Regions from separate parts of the Homo sapiens genome. Here region 2 is linked to region 1. Evidence: promoter capture Hi-C in 16 types of primary human blood cells and fetal thymus (Javierre and others, 2016). All regions are on one chromosome and are shown on one strand. The core of a region is centred on a gene start or on the middle of the fragment in contact, and the rest is flanking DNA. Distances in the headings are between cores, read along the strand shown.

The links. Contacts are between HindIII fragments. The CHiCAGO score rates a contact against its expected background, and 5 or more counts as called.
Region 2: a contact is called between a fragment that was not itself captured here and the fragment with the promoter of BTBD8 in region 1, in 3 of 17 cell types (endothelial precursors, M2 macrophages and M1 macrophages). The highest score is 5.9, in endothelial precursors.

Annotation. Positions count from the first base shown.
Region 1 is chr1:92,078,838-92,081,851 of GRCh38, forward strand. It overlaps BTBD8 (BTB domain containing 8), which reads left to right and starts at 1,508. Exons shown (of 18, transcript NM_001376131.1): 1 at 1,508-1,883. The coding sequence starts at 1,735. RefSeq lists an enhancer at 2,781-3,014. The HindIII fragment of the contact is 1,063 bases long and covers 1,059-2,121 here.
Region 2 is chr1:92,265,291-92,268,304 of GRCh38, forward strand. It overlaps GLMN (glomulin, FKBP associated protein), which reads right to left. Exons shown (of 19, transcript NM_053274.3): 10 at 2,815-2,845; 11 at 2,623-2,712; 12 at 1,410-1,451; 13 at 1,129-1,202. Among named protein-coding and RNA genes, the nearest start is that of GLMN, 32 kb to the right of the region's middle. The HindIII fragment of the contact is 741 bases long and covers 1,243-1,983 here.

The DNA.
Region 1 (3,014 bases), core at 258-2,757:
TAAATACTGCCTGGGTTATAATACACCATTATTATGGTGTAACACACCATATATTATAGTGTGATATATGACATTGTGTGACCTTGGCCAAGTTTACCTATCCTTTGTATGCCTCAGCTTCCTCATCTGTAAATAGGTCTGAAGACAGTACCTAGCTAAATGGTTGTTGTAAGGATTAACTGAGTTAAAACACACAGAGCAAATAGAGTAGCGTTTATCACATAATAAGGATTCAAATATAAGCTACTATTATGTTATCTTTGACACCCCTCGTTTCTACAGGAATAATTAAGAATCAATTATCCATCCAAGCATTTGGGAATTAATTTTAAAAAATCAATTATCCAGTTATATTTTTCAGAATTAAGATGTCTGAATATTTGAGAGGGGGCATTATCTGAAGAAATGGTTACCTCTTGGCCAATCTTATGGTACAAATACAAAGTCCATATATTCCCCTCCCCGCCTCCTTTTTTTTTTTTTTTGTTTGGTAGAGACAGGGTCTCCTTATGTTGCCCAGGCTGGTCTCTAATTCCTGGGCTCAAGTGATCCTCCCGCCTTGGCTTCCCAAAGTGCTGGGATTACAGGTGTGAGCCACCGCAACCTGGCCAATGTATTTTCCAAGCAATTACTATTCTTCACCTTGTGTGTAGAGTTTGTGAATGAAACAGATTTTTTTTTTTTTTTTTTTTTTTGAGACAGGGTCTTGCTGTGCTGTTCAGGCTGGAGTGCAGTGGTGCAATCATGGCTCACTGCAGCCTCGACCTCCCGGGCTCAAGCCATCATTCCGCCTCGCTTCCCAAGTAGATGGGACTTGCCCGGCCCGAAGCGGAACTACTGAGTTTCCTTATTTTGGAGGCAGTAATCAAATAAAAAATACCAAAACCTTAAATGATAATCAGTTTGCTACTTTATTTGGGACAAAAGAGAATTCTATATTTCATCCATCCATCACTTCACTGCTCAAAGACTTTGCCCCTTACCTATTTCTCCCTTCTTGGTCATAAATGTTAGGGCTTTATATGCAAAGCCCTGTGCTTTCTCCGATCAAGTCCAAAAGCTTGTATGAGCCACTCCTTGGATAAGAAGGGGATGGGGCCTTCTAGATGCTGTAAGTATCTCTTATATTGAACTCAGAATTGTTCTGACTGGCAGTTTATGAAGTTCTTCCCCTACTCCTCCCATCGCCAATTTTTCTTGCCCCAAACATTTATACCTCAGGGTTAAGAAGCCAGGTAAGTGAGGGGGTGTGACTCGCCCAGTCTTTCGTTGGAAAAAAGTGTAGACCTGTCAGGAAGACACAGCATAGAAAGGCTGCATGTGCTGATTTGAACTCGAGCCTCAGTAAAACATTGAAATGAATGAACACCAACCGGAAGGGAAAGAAGAGGGGAGGGGATAAGGAGCCTGAGGATTGGTTTGCCCCGCGGGATGGTCCGCGCCTGAGCCATGGGAGGCGGGGTGCCCGCCGGCAGAAGTAAACAGAGCGAGTACGCCTGCGCACGCTCTTCCTGGGTCAAGAGCCGGCTCGGTTCTGGGATTCTGAGGCTCCCCACCGCGGTCCGGCTTCTCTGGGAGACTGTCTACAAACCGACGAGAGGCGTCAACCTTTTACCCTAGGGGGCGGATTTGGGTAGGAGCCGAGCGTTCGGTCGGAAACGCCCCCTTCTTCCTCCTGGGCGGGGCAAGTGAGGCCAAGTACTGGGCCTCCAGGGCGTCGTACCTCTGTGAGACATGGCTCGCTGTGGGGAAGGCAGTGCGGCCCCCATGGTACTTCTGGGGTCCGCTGGAGTTTGCAGTAAGGGGTTGCAAAGGAAGGGGCCGTGTGAGCGGCGCCGGCTGAAGGCGACGGTGTCGGAGCAGCTCAGCCAGGATTTGCTCAGGTAGGAGGAGGCGGGAACTCTGGCTGCTTCAGTTCCTAAATCGCCCACCTCCGCCCCGAAGCTGAGGCTTCTTTCGGCTCTGCCTCCCCCTCCCTCAGCACTTGGTTCTCCTCGCCTCAGGCGACTGCGGGTCGTTAGCCAGTCTCCCCACTATTCCGAAAAGTGGCTTCGCTCGCCCTGAATAAACAATCCCGAGCACCTCGACACCATGTACCAGATTCAAAAGGAAAACAAAAAAAGCTTAGTCGTGTGCAGCACTAGTTTGCTAGAAATATCTCAACACAGGCACGCTTAGTTGTTTCCAATCACTAAGGTCGGGTGGATCCAGGTCCTGAAACTTACACAATTTTTAAAATAAGCTTATACTATTTTAAGAAAAATAATAAAATTAGGAAAACGATTATTTGAAATGAGGAAAGAACAATACTATAGTCTTGGAGGTCTCTTCTGAGGTCTCTTTAAACAATTTACCAGAAATGCTTCCTGATTGCGACCTGGATTCCTCTCTCCACCTAGAGCTCTCTGTAGCTCCCAGCAACTCTCAGCTCCTGTGAGGACCAAAGCAAATGGAGGGTCTTCCTGACATTTAACCTTTGTAAGCCTCATGGATATCCTTCTCGGGTTATTGGGAATCCAGCTAAAGTAATTTCAGCTTACAAAGAAATTGAAGCTTAGAAATATGACCTAGCTAATTTACATTTCCAGCAAGACATTGATTCTTAAACTTGGGTGGGCATCACTGAAATTTTCCATTTCTAACAAGGCCCCAAGTGATGCTAATGCTGCTGGCTAGGGTGACTATGAGAACCACTGAGGTAAACATAATTACTAATAATTAAAAGTTGTGCAGCATTCTACTTTTTTTTTTTTGGAGACGGAGTCTCGCTCTGTCGCCCAGGCTGGAGCGCCGTGGCGCGATCTCGGCTCACTGCAACCTCCACCTCCCGGGTTCAAGCCATTCTCCTGCCTCAACCTCCCGAGTAGCTGGGATTACAGGCACGCGCCACCACGCCCGGCTAATTTTTGTATTTTTAGTAGAGACGGGATTTCATCATGTTGGCCAGGCTAGTCACGAACTCGTGACCACAAGTGATCCGCCCGCCTCGGCCTCCCAAAATGCTGGGATTACAG
Region 2 (3,014 bases), core at 363-2,862, 190 kb after region 1:
GAAAGTAGTCCAGTGCTAGAGTAGCTTAATTGCAAAAAAAAAAAAAAAACTAGATATGACTAGCTTAAGAAAAAAAGGGGATTTATTGGTAGAGATACACATAGAACAGAACAGGAAAGCCGGTATAATACCTAAGAATTGAGATTTCATAAACTTGCTCTTACTATCAATAGAAAACAAGAAAAGATAGAATCAAGAGTGTTGGCTGGGCATGATGGCTCATGCGTGTCATCTCAACACTTTGGGAGGCTGAGGTGGGTGAATCGCTTGAGCCCAGGAGTTTGAGACCAGCCTGGGCAACATGGCAAAACCCCATCTCCACAAAAAAATTAGCTGGGCATGATGGCATGCACCTGTAGTCCCAGCTACCTGGGAGGCTGAAGCGGGAGGATCACCTGAAGCTGGGGGGCCAAGGGTGAAGGCTGCAGTGAGCCATGATCACACTGCTGCACCCGCCAAAAAAGAACAGTACTAATATTGGCCAATCCCAGGTAAGACATTTTAGCAAATCCAGCCTGATGCCCAATTTTATCAATAAAGTTTTACTGGAACACACCCATCCCCAATACAAAGTCAAAGTTGAGCACTTGCAACAGAGACTGTATAGCCCATAAAACCTATATTTACTATTTGGCTCTTCACAGAAAATTAATTAGAAAGTTTACCAATCTTTAACTTAGAGAGTTGCTAGAATCTTATCCACCTCAAAGAGCAGTATTAGTAAGCTCTTACTATTAACATAGTGCATAGCCTATCAAAGTTGTAATTCCAGAGCCATCAATTTGAACTGTGAGTAATGGAGATTAGTGACATACATAAAGTTCCAGCAGGAGCATCATCAATCTCAGTTTAATTATTTTTAAGTCTATTTCAAATTTAGAGTATTCCAATTGATTGAACTGCAATATATACTATTAGTCATACAAAATATAGACATATATATAGTATGTCTGAAATATTTGATTAACCCTTTCTCTAGCCATCACTGAGAATTTATAATATGGGTTCCAACCAGAGTTGAATTACATGTAAAACATACCGACATACTATGCCCTAAAACAATTACATGGCATTAACATGACTTTTAATCAACCACACACTTAGCAATTAGCCATGCTTGATACATACCTAAATAATGTATATTTGCCTTGTGAATCCAACTTGTTAATATACAGCTGAAGCATAGCTAAACTCTTTTTCCTCTAAAATGGAACAAACAATATTATTATATAAAATGAATAAAGCTTACCCAGACTTCATCACTATCCATTTTATGCATGTAATACATCCACACTTGTACCTCCTAAATAAAAATTTCACAAATTAAAATTTTTAAAAAGAAAATTAAATTATTTGTCAAATTTTCTCACTGTAACTCATTATTCTTTAGTCACCAAATATTTACATACCAGTGTCTCAATGGGGCAAAGTGTCATTACTTTCACTAAGCCCTGGAAATAAAAAAATGTAAAATTCAGATGTAAACAGATTATACTGACTGCAAACAAACAACTATAATACATCAATAGGATACTAAAAATTCAGAGAAGTGAGGGTAGGAGATTTAAAAGTGAAGTAAATTAATTTTTCCCTAAGCCTTCCATTCCAGAAAGCTAACTACAATTGATTTTTTAAGTGATATTGAGTAGAGTGTCACACAGTGTACTTTTAAAAGCAAACGATAATTTTCAATTATGTCTACAGTGGCAAGAAAATGAAATCAAATCTACAGAAATATAATTTATTAATTAAAAACAATCAAACAATATGTTAACAAAAACCATGTTTTTCTATTTAAATATTAGGAAAACCAGTTCCCACACTGAAATCTAAGGATTTCCTTGGATATCATAACTAACAAAGAGGATTGGGCAAAATAAACCATAGGAGGGAAAAACACAATGTGTATTAGTCTTTCTGGTAATGAGTCAGTGGATGCCTTAGATGGAGTCCTGAGAACTTGAGTTATGAGAAACATAAAGAAGCTTCATTTTCCAAGATCCCTACAGAAATAAAGTGTTAAAAGAAGAAAGTTATGCTTTTCTACTGGATGCTGTGCTATCAATAATGGTGGCCTCTAATAGCTATTCGTGTTTAAATAAATTAAAATTTAAATTTGAAACTTAGTTCCGGCTGGGTGTGGTGGCTCACACCTGTAATCCCAGCACTTTGGGGGGCTGAGGCAGGCTGATCACGAAGTCAGGAGATCGAGACCATCCTGGCTAACACAGTGAAACTCCGTCTCTACTATAAATACAAAAATATTAGCTGGGTGTGGTGGCGGGCGCCTGTAGTCCCAGCTACTCGGGAGGCTGAGGCAGGAGAATGGAATGAACCCAGGAGGTGGAGCTTGCAGTGAGCTGAGATAGCACCACTGCACTCCAACCTGGGCGACACAGCAAGACTACACCTCAAAAAAAAAAAAAATAGTTCCTTAGTCACATTTCAAGTGTTCAGTTTGGCTAGTGGCTTTCATATTGTCAAAGTTCTACTGGACAGCATTACACCAGAGTTTTCAAAGGTTGCAGAGAAAAGAGTGGGAAAGGAATCAGAAAAGACCTTACTTTAAGTTCAGAACAGGCAAAGGGCTATTTTCAATATTAGAATACATATTTTATTTACCTGAGGTACAGTAAGAAAACTCTTGATTTCTAAGTACTGGTAAAGTAGACTATTGTCTTCTATTCTCAATAAACTATTCTCCAGCAGCTCCTACAGATTAAAATATATGCAGATACATATATAGTGAAGTCAACAGCTGTTATTTGTTGACATAACTATGTATTTAAGTTATAATGGGAACAAACATCTTACCAATCCTTTGGAGATAACAGACTCTTCTGTTCTGAAAAATAATATTAAAATTTATCATGAATTTGTAAACTATTTTAGAATGATACTTCATCTTATGAAAAATACAGCAAAAACTGAAATTTTAACACTTTTAAAATGCATATCATTAAGGAGAAATTCTGTTGAAGAACTTGATCAAAAGTTTTAATCCATCTTTGATC